Linked DNA regions of Homo sapiens: regions 2 and 3 are each linked to region 1. The links are contacts of gene promoters, found by promoter capture Hi-C in human tissues and cell types (Jung and others, 2019). All regions are on one chromosome and are shown on one strand. The core of a region is centred on a gene start or on the middle of the fragment in contact, and the rest is flanking DNA. Distances in the headings are between cores, read along the strand shown.

Evidence for each region. Contacts are between HindIII fragments. The study calls those that stand out against the background at their distance.
Region 2: a fragment that was not itself captured here is called in contact with the fragment with the promoter of ZBTB24 in region 1 in 1 of the 25 tissues and cell types used here (H1 embryonic stem cells).
Region 3: a fragment that was not itself captured here is called in contact with the fragment with the promoter of ZBTB24 in region 1 in 1 of the 25 tissues and cell types used here (hippocampus).

Annotation. Positions count from the first base shown.
Region 1 is chr6:109,481,035-109,485,411 of GRCh38, forward strand. It overlaps ZBTB24 (zinc finger and BTB domain containing 24), which reads right to left and starts at 2,185. Exons shown (of 7, transcript NM_014797.3): 1 at 2,064-2,185; 2 at 41-1,020. The coding sequence starts at 992. It overlaps ZBTB24-DT (ZBTB24 divergent transcript), which reads left to right and starts at 2,610. Exons shown (of 4, transcript NR_187591.1): 1 at 2,610-3,803. RefSeq lists an enhancer at 1-177 and silencers at 1,876-2,165, 2,246-2,685. The HindIII fragment of the contact is 15,822 bases long and covers 1-4,377 here.
Region 2 is chr6:110,320,533-110,324,909 of GRCh38, forward strand. It overlaps METTL24 (methyltransferase like 24), which reads right to left. Exons shown (of 5, transcript NM_001123364.3): 2 at 2,242-2,340. Among named protein-coding and RNA genes, the nearest start is that of METTL24, 36 kb to the right of the region's middle. RefSeq lists an enhancer at 2,308-2,915. The HindIII fragment of the contact is 6,552 bases long and covers 1-4,377 here.
Region 3 is chr6:110,166,265-110,170,641 of GRCh38, forward strand. The region is part of intron 2 of WASF1 (WASP family member 1); the gene reads right to left. Among named protein-coding and RNA genes, the nearest start is that of WASF1, 11 kb to the right of the region's middle. The HindIII fragment of the contact is 5,875 bases long and covers 1-4,377 here.

The sequences.
Region 1 (4,377 bases), core at 935-3,434:
TTCTGCAACACACTGCAATCAGCTTTGAAAACATCATTACCTGTGTGGCTCCTCTGGTGGATTGCTAAAAAGTGATTGTACTTAAAGACCTTGCCACAGTCTTTACAGCGGGCCTCAGGGCCTCCAGGGCGCTTTCTCCTTCCACAGATCCTCTTGGCTGAACCATGGTCCTCTTGATCCCCAACAAGTTTGTAATCTTTAAGTTTGACGGATCTCCAAATCCTCCGCTTGCTGTATCGACTCTGGCTTGCCTGGCCATCCTCGGTCTTGGGATCATAGTTCTCATCTTTTTCAACTGGCATTTCCTCCTCTCTACTTGGCTCACAAGTAGGCTCCGATTCTTCCTTTTCTTTTGCTGCAATTTGCTCATTCAGTACACCACTGTCTCCTTTAACCACAAAGTTTTGTCTATTCTGAACTGAATTGTTCACTCTTAACTGTATTTCTTCCTCTGCAGCCAGTTCTGATTTCTCCTCCTGCAATGTATTGACTTTTTTTGGTCTTCCCCGTTTCCGCTTTGGAGGATCGTTTTTCTTATTAGAGATAACAACCACTGGGGCACCAGCAGTGTTCAAAGTTGTTGGCTTTGGGGAGCTATGATTATTTTGGAAGTCTGTGTAAGCCTTTACCAGGTCATAGACTTTTAAGAACTGAGCAGTAGCCAGGATTTGTTCTGTACTTTTCTCACTGGCATGGAGATAACCTGTGTAGATAAATTCCAGCAGGATACCAAAGGTGTCTGCAACCATGCCTTCCAGCATATAAATGGATTGGCCGATTTCCCCCTCTTCTGCAAACATCATTGAGAAGTATTCACTACTGGCAGCAAGTAAGGCTTTGTGGGCCCGGAAATGTACATTCTCCACGATTAAAGTAATGTCACAGAGGAAGCCTTTCTTCCTCTGATCCTCAAAACTGGCCAGCACAGTGTCACTGTGAGCGTCTGAGTGTACAACAAGCTGCCCAGAAGGCTCTGGCGATGTTTCTGCCATTTTCTTCAGAAGCCACTAAGGGTTAAATCTGAAATAAGAAAACAAGGTTTAAAAAGGAGAAAGCACTGTCTAAAAGGTTAATGCCAGCCCACATGAACTTCCTATTCACTTCACATCATTAACTGAATTTTACCATTACCATTTTTGTCTGTCTACAAACTTAGCTCTGGGCCCGGGCGCAGTGGCCTCACGCCTGTAATCCCAGCACTTTGGGAGGCCGAGGCCGACGGATCACTTGAGACCAGCCTGGGCAACATGGAGAGAATTCATCTATACAAAAAATACAAAAATTAGCCTGGCGTGGTGGCGCCCGCCTGTGGTCCCAGCTACTCAGGAGGCTGCGGCAGGAGCATCACCTGAGCCTGGGAGTTCGAGGTTGCCGTGAGCCGTGATCGTGCCACTGCACTCCAGCCTGGGCGACAGAACGAGACCACCACCTCAAAAAACAAAAACAAAACAACTTAGCTCGCGGTTTTTTTTTTTTGAGACGGAGTCTCGCTCTATCGCCCAGGCTGGAGTGCAGTGGCGCAATCTCGGCTCACTGCAACCTCCGCCTCCCAGGTTCAAGCAATTCTCTCCCTCAGCCTCCTGCCGCACATTAACTAGCTGAGTGACTCTCCAGTATTCATGGAACGGTTCAGGGTCTACCTTCTATAAAATGAAGGAATGGGATTAACCATCTCCAAAATCCTCCGCAAGCACGAACTTTCTATGGTTGCACAACTATTTCAGGGAGAACGAAGCTGCCTCCATCTCCCAGATTATTAGCCATTTCGTATGTGGGAACCAATGTGAAGAGTGAAGAAATGTGCACGTGCAAAGTGAATGTGAGGTAGCTGCAATAAAATACTAATAACTTAAGCTGCGTGGGGCCGCCAGACACACTAGGGGCGGCGCGGAGCCCCCCGCAGCCCCGGGTGGTCCCAGCAGGGAGAGGTGGCGCGGAAAGACCCCCACCTCCCCGCCCAGGCCCCGCGGGCCCGACTGGGGAGCACACGGCGGGGGAGGGGTCGGCGCGGCAGACCTACCGCTCAGGGGCGCCCGGTGGGGTCCGGGTCGCTGCCAACTCACCCGGCGGCCTGGCGGGAGACCCACGCCGGGGCCCGCTGGCCCTCCGCTCCGCCCCGCCCGCCTCTGGGGCTTCTGCGCCGCACCGGTTTCTGCTCCTGCGCCGCCGCCGCAGCCACAGCCACAGCCAACCCGGAAGCGCGGCGCCAAGAGCCGCTTGCGCGCGGACGCCGAACCACGTGGCCCGCAGAGGCGCCCCTGGAGGTGGGGGCCACGAGAGCGGCGGGGAGGGGAAGGGAGGTGAGGGGCGGGGCGGGGCGAGATGGCGGGGCGGGGCGGGGCGGGGCAAGGCGGGGCAAGGCAGGGCAAGGCGGGGCGCGAAGGCAGTTCAAGGGTTGGGGCGTGGCAGGGGAGGGGAGGGGCAAGGCGGGGCGAGAATGCAGGCCTGGGGTCGGGGGAGCCGCGGCGGGGCGGGGCAGGGCGGGGCGAGATGGCAGGCCCGGGGCTTTGGGGCCGGGGCCGGGGCCGGGGCCGGGGCAGGGCGGGGAGGGGCGCGGCTTCGGAGGAGGGACAGTGGCCGGGGCGGGGCGCGGCCAGGGGCGGGGCGGTGTCGGCGCCCGAGGTCCTGCGTGTGGCACTGCCGGGGAGCCCAGGCAGGAGCGACTTTTGCGGTGAATTGGGGGCAATGGACAGGAGAGGCGTTGTGACCCCTCCCTTTGGGAAGTTTTATATCGTATTAAACTGTTAGCTCAACGCCAATACCTTAATTTTATCTCTTCTCCGACACCGAATCTGGTGTTGTTCTTGAATGTATAAAGGCATGAAATCCCCCTTACCGTCATCATCATTGTCATCATCATCACCATCGTCATTATCTAGTGCTAATATAATAACTATTACTTACCTCCTAAATGTTTTTCACATCTGCCTCCTTTTCCTCCCCACTCCTGATGCCTTAGTCTAAGGGAATGAAGAGAGCACTGCAGTCAGAGAAACCTGGGTTCTGAGAGATCTTGGGCAAATTACTTACCCTCACAACTTCTTTACCTTACCTGTAAAATGGAGATGTTAACACTAGTGCCACTTTGGTAGGGTTGCTATTGCATAAACAAAATTAAGTATGTAATGGGCTTAGGAAATGCCTGGTTTAATTCGTCTGCTGTGATTAAAATGATCATTATTATTCAAACTTTCATCATCTTTGTTCAATAGACTGTTTCTAACTGGTCTCAGCTGCAGCGTTGTTCTCTTTAATTCGCAGAAGTACAGAGGATTTCTCCAAGTACATATGAGATCCAGAGACTAGAGTCACTCCTTGGCTTAGAATCCATGTGGCTCCCACATGCCCTCTGGATAAAGTCCAGGCTTCTTAATGTGGTCTACAAGCCCCATCCAGATCTACTCCCCACCTGCTTCCATCCATTTATTTCAGCATTTTCTCTCTCTTAGCCAATACCTAATTACTTATTTTTCTGCCCATTTCCAGATTCCCAACATGCCATCTATAGCCTCCCTGATCTTGAACCGGAGGTGTAATTAGCAACCTGGCTCTTACATTTTTACTAGATTTTATTAAAACTAGCTCAAGCCACACATGCTCCTTCTCTGAGGTTTCCCTTTCATATTGAATTGTCTCTAAGTCCTCTGGATTTGTGGGGGTACAAGTGGGATGGGGAGCGCTCCCTGACTTCTGCATACCAGCAGGAAGTTAGCTACCTCATTGTTTCTTGCTGCTACGAGGGTTGCAGTCAAATCACTGTCCCTCCAGAGGTCCTCAACGGCATAAGAAGACTCAGTGCCAAGGTAAGCCAGGTACTTCCATTTCCTCATTCAATCATTGCTCACTGGAGCATAATCCTGCGAGGAAAGACTGAGTCTGGAGGATCTTCCAGCATCAGCCACCCACAACACAGACTAGCCCTTTCTTCAAGGCAATTTTGTTTTGGATCCATACTGACTTTTTCAAAACTTTTGTTCTTGTTAAGGCCAGCCGGTCTACCCCTAACAGGTCTTCTTAAATTTAAATCTTGCAGAACAGGATTTGGGGTGTCATACATTCATCTAACAGATATTTATCGAGTGTCTACTAAGAGCCAGACATTGGCGTCAGGTGTTGGGGATACAGCAACTAACAAGGCCTTTGCTCTCATGAAGCTTACATTCTACTAAGGGGAGACAGGACAAATATACAAGTAAACTAATGAATAATAGTTTCAGAAAGTGTTAAATTTTATAAAGAATGATGATGGAGACTGACAGGGAAGTGAAATCAGGATAGGGTGACATTTGAGCTGAGATCTGAATGACATGGAGACAGCTGTGGGAAGATCTGGAATAAAAATGTTCTAGGCAAGGGAAAAGCAAGCATAAAGGCTCA
Region 2 (4,377 bases), core at 996-3,495, 840 kb after region 1:
GGCCCCGCATTAAAAACCATTGTGAGGTCCGGAATTTTACGTCATTCTTTCTGGAGGACAAAAATCCTTCTAGTGAGCTTCAACAACAAATTCTCTATTATCGCTCATCAAGCTGAATAATAATTATACATCCAGTTATCCACCTTCACAAAGAGTTGGTTAGATCCTTAAGGGCAGAGACTATATCCTCAGGGCCCAGAACAGTTCCTGGCACCTTGTAGACACTCAAAAATACTTGGTTAATAACCATTCTATACTGCTCTGTGCACAGTACAAGCTCACAGAACTGAGGGGGACCTTAGAAATAATTTTGATACAATCTCTTCCATTTCAGGATCAGAACAAGGAGAGCCAGAGAAGCAAAGTGAAGTACCCAGGTTTACAAGATCAGACTACGGAGGATGCTTTAAAAAAAAAAATTTGGCCAGGCGCAGTGGCTCACACCTGTAATCCCAGCACTTTGGGAGGCTGAGGTGGGTGGATCTCCTGAGGTCAGGAGTTCAAGACCAGCCTGGCCAACATGGCAAAACCCTATCTCTACTAAAAATACAAAAATTAGTCGGGCATGGTGACAGGCTCCTGTAATCCCAGCTACTCGGGAGGCTGAGGCAGGAGAACCACTTGAACCTGGGAGGCAGAGGTTGTAGTGAGCTGAGATTGTGCCACTGAACTCCAGCCTGGGTAACAGAGGGAGACTCTGTCTCTGAAAAAAGAAAAGAAAAGAAAAGAAAAATTTTCTCCTCTCAGCCCATAGTTTCTGGGAAAGATCCAAGAGAGATCTAAAAATGACCATTTCATGCCTCAATAGCTTCTTCTAAGCAAACATGCCTTTTATAAGTTATGGAACATTAACATGAAATACATATAGAATGGAATTTGGTAGCTTGCATTACATAAATTTATTTTGGCGAGTGAAGCCCATAGTTCTCAAATCCGATTCATAAAATTAAAACCTCTTATTTTCTTCTGGAGCCTTTAAGGGCTTTTGAAAATCACAGTTAAAAGGTCCAGATTCTTATCGTTCATGTAAAATCAAACTACAAAACTAAAATTTCAGTATTTTAATTAAGTCTGCCTAAGTCCATCAAATTAATTTGCAGCAGCAAAATAAGATAAAATCATGAGAAGCACAGGGACTAATTCAACAGCCCATCACTCATGATTAATTCAACAAGCTTTTACGTCCATGTTTGGGTGACAAATACTAAAATTCCTATGATTGTCTCACTGCATTATATGATAAATGAGACTTTCTTTTACCCCTAAACTAACTAACCTCCTAAAGATCTGGAAATATATTCTCTCCTACGGAGGAAAAGCGCTTTGCTGCCAGAGAGGCTGGGGAGGAGAACAGGGATGTCAAGAGTGGGCTTGAGGGAGATTCTAAAAATCCAGGATCCCCCGTGCAGCACCAGCTCCACTGTGCAGCTTCCTGAGTGGGCCTCTGTGCAGCTCACAGGCAGTCTGAGCTGCTAATTTGCTAGCACCTCTCAGTTCAGGGCTAAATTTCCCTTGGGCCTTGATTTCCTTTTCTGTCTCTCTTTCCCCCTGGGATCAGGCAACTTGAGAATGGAACCTTCTGATTAACATGTCAAGAGCCATAGACTGTCTTAATGGACAGTCTCTTTGCCTGCTCGGGGCACTGGCTCAGCCTGGAGCTGGGCAGGAACTACCACAATGTGTTAAGTCACTAATAAAGGCCCGTGCTCAGTAATGATTTCAAGTGCTCTGAGATAGAGAGCCTTTGGATTCATTAACTCCTCAGCACACTGCCTGCAAAGCCTCCTCTGCTCTCTTGCCTAGCACATCCCTGGCTGCCAAGCATCTGTGACAGAAGAGTGGAAAGGCAAGTTCCTCCAAATACAAAATGGTGCTTGAACCTCTAGATGATGGTTTTGTTTTGTGACATACTCGACTGCCTACTCACGGGGACCAATCTGTCATTTCAAATGGTTTTCCAAAGCAATTTTCTAAAGTGGATCTTTAAAACACTTTGGGATGAATCATTTAAACATTTCAGGTTGGTGACACTCTTGGAGGAAGGAACATGCCCTAGCAAATGGAAGGTATCTTATCTGCCTCCAAGTGAGTGGATGAGTTTAAGCAACAATGCCTCTGAACACACTTCCCCATCAAGTCCTCATCAGGAGTCGCTGAGAACCTCCCCCACCTCCTTCTTTCAAAAGAGGCAATCAGGATCTTTCACATTCTTCTCTAACTTCTTTGAGCCTGAAACACAACCTGGGTGGTGCTGATATATCTCAGGAACCTCCAGGCTTCTTCATCCAGGGACTGAGCAGAGCCTGCCCAAGGCTGGAGATCTATATGCCACCGGGGACCCTGCAAGAGACAGAAAACATAGGTTGTGTGTAAGGAAGAGGAACTGGGTGGGAGGAGAAGGACACAGTATCAGAGAGGAAGCAAGGCTGCTTTGGCTGTCAGCAAAACACACACATATGCACACAGGCAGCAGGAGGCTCTTTGCGAGCTGCTGTCATTAAGGCCACATCAGTCGCAGGGAGACAAATGAGGCCGGAGACAGCACAACTCCCAGGTTGGGGAATTTGCAGGAGAATGCAAAGGCCCCAGGACTGTCTGACTCTGCATGTATGATCAAAGGCAAACTCCACTTGACCCCATTGGGCTCTCCCTTAACTGCAGCTTATTTTATATGAGGCTGTGCTCCTCCGGGAAAAGAAACTCCCTTATCGACGACAGTCTCCCAAAGCTTAGAGCTTCAAGAATATGTGCCTCTCTAAACAAAGCACCATAATGCTGGGGGCTTGTCTTTGTTCTGGGCATTTGTTTATCTTCCTCAGTGCAGGGAGATGGGACCACGGCCCTTGGCTGCTGGGACCCTGCACAGGCAGAGCGAGGACCCCAGAACTGTCATCACCAGGGCTGGGGAGGGTGGCTTTCTAGCACTGTGAGGCAGCCACCACCTGTTAGCAGAGGTTACGAGGTGCTCCCAAGAACAGAGTGGTTAAGGATGACCCGCTCAGCCCCCTTTTGTAGCAAGGATGGGTGGATGAAGGGTTGGGGGAATGCAATGGTCTGGAGGAAACAAAAATGGTAGCCCCTCCAGTAAAAAGGGGGCACTAGTCAGGAAATCCTTATTAGAGCTCAAAACTCCCACCTATAGTTGTCAACACCAAGAGACCTCCAGGAGGTTTGCTGCAATTCCCAGGGGTGGGGACGGCTCGTGCAGGGTAGGGAAGGGCTGGGGGAAGGGAGAGCTCCAGCAGCTGGCGGGGTCAATGTCTAGTGCCAGGAAAGGCTTTGGGCGTCATAGCATAGGTTTCCTGCAGTGTAGTGAGAATGGGCCCCTAAACCCCTTTTTATATGGTGAGGAAGTAGGCAGGGGAGGGTTCTGGGGGCAAGATAAAGGGATCATTCACATATACACAGTGTTCTCCAGTCAGGTACTGTGGTGGGAACTCTCAGCACCCAAGAAAGAAACATCTAGACAGGCCAGCCGTGAGATGCTTTAGTACAAATGTGGTTTGTTGCCCCTAGATGGGGTGGCCTAGGTGACTCGGGGTTACATAGAAAACAGGAAAGTAGTGGGGAACAAGGTTAGTCTATGTGAAGCCAGACGGTCTGGGTTTGGGGAAGAGGAATCCATTCTCACTTGGGCGTCTGAGATCAATACCAGCGCTTTGGAAGTGATCAAGGGTTATTCAGTTTTGGCATTATTAGACACACATCATTGCAGAATCCCTGTAGAGCCCACAGTCTCACATCCCCACAGCCTGTACTACCCTTGTGGGGGCTGAGCCTCACGCAGTCCCTCTAGATTGAAGGAGGCCTCCCTGGTTTCCCGCAGACTGCCTCTTTTTTCAGGAACCCATAGGGCAGGGCCAGCTGTATGGGCATGCAACCTGTGCAGTCTTAGGAGGCCATGCTCAGTTTAATGCTCTGCTGATGCTGTCTCGAAATTCTTAGTAATTTTATTATTTTTTTTATTACTGCTCCTTGCAGAGCAGGGCTAACTCACAGGCAGTGTGCCTAGAGTCAGTCAAAATTCTTAAAAATTTTTGAACAAAAGGCCCTGCATTTCATTTTATACTGGGCCCACGAATCATGTAGCCAGTCTTCCCTGAGGGACACCTTCTGAAAGAACAGCCTTTTCTTGTAGCTCTTCTTGTTCTGTGCAGGCTGAGCAGGCAGAGACTCTAGTAAGAGAGCTGGAGAACATTAAGTCATACATCTTTCCAGTTAATGCCTCCCACACCCTCATTTCTTTTTTCCTTCTCTGAATTCGATGTTGATTACCATTTGGTCAAACAATATTTATTGAGCCTTAGCCACTCTGTGCCAGGCACTGGTAAATAGAGATATGACTAAAACCCAGGCTCTCCCAAGAGGCACTCATGG
Region 3 (4,377 bases), core at 986-3,485, 690 kb after region 1:
TCTCCTAATCTGAGTCCTCATTTTGACCAAAATATTTCTGAACTCTTTTACCCTGAAAAGATTTTAAATGTTTTAAAAATATCAGTGGTATTCCCCAAATTACATTTTCACACCAAAGTACAGTCTTTACCAAGACTATCCTGAAGACAATGAGAACAGTTAGCTTACTCATTTTATAGAGAGCAAGGCTCAAAAAATGACCAGGGACACCAGAAAGTCAACATGAAATGAAAGGTCTTTCAGTTTTAGTGTTACATTCATTAAAATAATAAACTAATATTGGTATTTTATACTCTAGCAATGGATGAGAATTTTTTATTTACTGTGTCCTCAAGCAAAAATATTGCTAGTTGTATTTAATCTGTAAAATTTAAAAGCAGAGTAGATAAAATAGCAGTTAAAGGTAGACAAAATAGCAGTTAGGAGTACAGAGTCTGACCACAGATCAGATGGGTTTGAATCTTGGCTCTGCCATTTACAAACTGTGCAAAGAATCTTAACTTCTCCGTCCCTCTGTGGCTAGTCCTGCCTTCTTTGGCTGGCTGTTTATGAGGATCAAATAAGATACAATGATTAGCATAAAGCCTGGCATATAACACACAAAACTCAAAAATGTTTATTTTTTTGTGTGAAAAAAATTTTAAAGTATTTCTTAAAGCAGAATCTTCCAAGGATAAAGGGCTATGCTATCTTAATATAACTGGAGTTGCAGTCATGAGTTTCAGTCAGTGATGGACCACATATATGTTGGTAGTCACATAAGGTTCTAAGGGAACTAAAAAAAATTCCTATCACCTAGTAACACTGTAGCCATCATGCAGTGTTAGCCATCATACACAATGTAGACATCATACATAATGCAAAGCATTACTCACATATTTGTGGTGATACTGGAAAAAAAAACCCTACTGTGCCGCCAGTTACATAAAAGTATAGTTACATAATACTTGATAATAATAAACTACTATATTACTGGTTTATGTATCTACTATCCTATACTTTTTATCATTATTTTACACTGTACTCCTTCTACTTATTTTTTTTTTCAAAGTTAGAAAGAGCCTCAGGCAGCTCTTTCAGGAGGTATTCCAGAAGGCATTGTTATCATAGGAGATGACAGCTCCATGCTTGTTACTGCCTCTGAAGACCTTCCAGTGGGACAAGATGTGGAGGTAGAAGACAGTGATATCAATTATTCTGACCCTGCGTAGGCCTAGGATAAGGTGTGTGTTTCTCAGTCTCCTTTGCTAGTGCATCCTTTTCTTTAACTTCTGTACCTCTAATTCTTTGAGGACTCCAGGACTTAGTCCTGGTACCTTTTCTCTTATTTTTATCTAAGCTCACTTCATTAGTAATCTCATTCATATTATGTTTTCTTAAGATGAGATACATCTATAACTTACATGTTTCACTATAACCCTCAAATAAGGTCAACCATAGATAATTCTACTAATATTCGGTGAGGCAGCTACAAATAAAAAACAAATTCAAATAGAAACAACATAATTAAAAATAAGTGACTTAATTTTCAATAAATCATCACCATCTTTCTGTAGTTTAAGTTCAATATGATTGGTATAGTCACTTAAAATTCAAAATAATAAAGCTAAATTGATGATAACCAAAACAAATATTTGTTTATTCTAGTCACTGATTACATTGGAAACATTTACATACCACACTGAGTATTTAATGAAAAACGTAAATCATGATTTTGTCTACGGTCCTAGTTCCCTAGCCTTAAAATTTAACAGTAGCATCTTATGTTAATATAGACTTTTTCCAAAAGCCCTTTTATAACAATTATCTCTTATACCTCAAAGAATATTTAATTAGAATAGTAAAATAAATACTATTTTCACCACACTTTCTGGTCCTAACATGACCTCTCACATAACAGTTAATAACGAGTGAATTTAATTAAAATTGTTGAGGAACTCATAAATCCATCCCTACTATATGAAATACATATTGAAATTCATGTTTAACTGATAAGAAGTCATTAATGTCATCTTTCTGTACTTAGTATAGCATTACCAAAAAATTTACATTTTATTTTTAATGCTAATGAATGAAATTAAGTTCTGTATGTACAAATCCTCTGAAAGACATGCTCTATTTCATTTCCTTCTGTGATAGTGAAAATGGTGATTTTTATGATGTTAACACTACTGTATATGAGGCATGCAGTTGTGCACTGCCTCTATCACAATGAAAAAGACTTGCTTTTGCAAGCAAGAAGAATACATTTTAAAATACAGGAATCAGCAGCAATACATAACCACCTTCATCCCTCCAAGATTCCCACTTCAAATGATGTGGCTTTACTACTTGCCAAGCCTAGAGCAACTGTTAGAAGTATATAGACAAGAGCAAGGCTTTTAAAACTGGACCCCATCTCTCTCGAGTACTCCACTGCCAGTACTTCCAGTCCTGAGGAGTAGCACCTTTCCTTCTACTACTAAGCACATCAAGTGTCTGTGCACAGACTTTTTTAATAGTTCTGCCTATGAGATCTCCATCTCCGAAGTGTCTCTTTCTGACATGAATATTCTACCCTATCCATTCATTGCCTCATTATTATAAAACAACTTTGTCCTTACCAAGTTCCTGCAATCCTGTCATTCTCCTCTACTTTCAAAACCATCAACACACTTTTGCTTTGCTTCCCTTCCTACTCACTAGCATCTCACATTCCTCTTCAGAGATCTGGCCAGACCACAAGGCCTTATCCCCTGTCCCAACAGAACAGTCATATTAAGAATGCAACACATTATATCCTTTGATCACAACTTCAGCATCCTCTTCTGTCTCTCCTTTTTCTTTCCACTAAATGTTAGGCATCAACAGTTTTGTTATACCTAGTTCTACACTTTCTCCTCTTCATAAATCCATCACTGCTAGATCTTTAACCATCAATTCTAAATTACTTACACAAACTTAAACAATCAACCCTAACAGTCCTGACAATATATACTCCTGTGCTATCAGTCTGCCAGACAGCTCCACAGGGACATCTCACTAACTCAAATTCAAAATATCCAAAATCAAATTCATTATCCATCATTCCCCACTCTCCCCAAAAAGGAAACTTATTCTTTGGGCTTCTCTATTTCTAGTAACAGCACCAAATCACTTAGGATTTGAGATCATCTTTAAATTAAAGCAAAGTACTGGATTCTCCATTAACCAGTTCAGTCAACTTTCAAATGTATGCAAATTGCTGGTAAAACAGTTGCATCTCATCAAAAGGACACAATACAGCCATTTTCATTCAACTCCTTTGATGGTACACAAATCTGATACACTGCACATGACTTGAACTCTGAAATCAGTCCCCAACACTCACCTCCAGTATTGCGACCTAACAAGTAAATCAAAATAATCCCATTTTTTCATTACATCTAGAGGAAGCTTAAGTCAGGGGTAAGCCCAAGGCAGTTAAATTTTAGTGACTATTGTAAAAAAATTCTGTAGTGGTCTATACTTAAAACTTAGTTTCCACCACAAATAATGAGAATCATACTTCTTCACAGGGTTGTTGTGAGGATTAAATCAAATACGTAAGATATTTAGTACAATGCCTAGCATATACAGGTGCTCAAAATGTTTCCAAAATTAAGAAACCAAACAGCAAATCCATGAAGCTCAGAGATCATCAACCACGATAAATACCAGAAAATCTACACCTAGGCATGTGATGTTCAAACTGCAGAAAACCAAAGACAAAGAAAAATTTTGAAAGACAGAGAGAAACCACTTTACCTATAGAGGGACAAGGATAAAAATTAGATTGGACTTCTCCTCGGTAATCATACAAAAAGAGAGGCAAACTAGGACAACCACTTACAAAACATTTTAAAGAGAAAGAAGTATAATTGATATGCTAAGAGAGGAGAGAAAAGGAAACCATACAAAGTGCTCAATTAAAGTCAGAGCAGAAAAAGAGAGGACATTTTTTGGGGGTGGAGGGGGTGAAACAGAGGTTCCTTCCATCACTCAGACCGGAGTATAGTGGTGCAATCTTGGCTCACTGCAAACTCCGCCTCCCAGGCTCAAGTGATCCTACTACCTCAGCCTCCCAAGTAGCTGGGACTACAGGTGCATGTGACCACACCTGGCTAATTTCTGTATTTTTTTGTAGAGACAAGGTTTCACTGTGTTGCCCAGGCTGGTGTCAAACTTCTGGGCTCAAGTGATTGGCCTGACTCAGCCTCCTAAAGTGTTGGGATTACAGGTGTGAGCCACCAGCCCAGCCAACTTTTTCTTTTTAATGAAACAAAGAACAAGTGCAATGAATAAAAAAAGTTGCAAATACAGTAGATTTTAATACAATTATGTCAATAATCACTTTAAATGTGAATGGTCTAAATATGC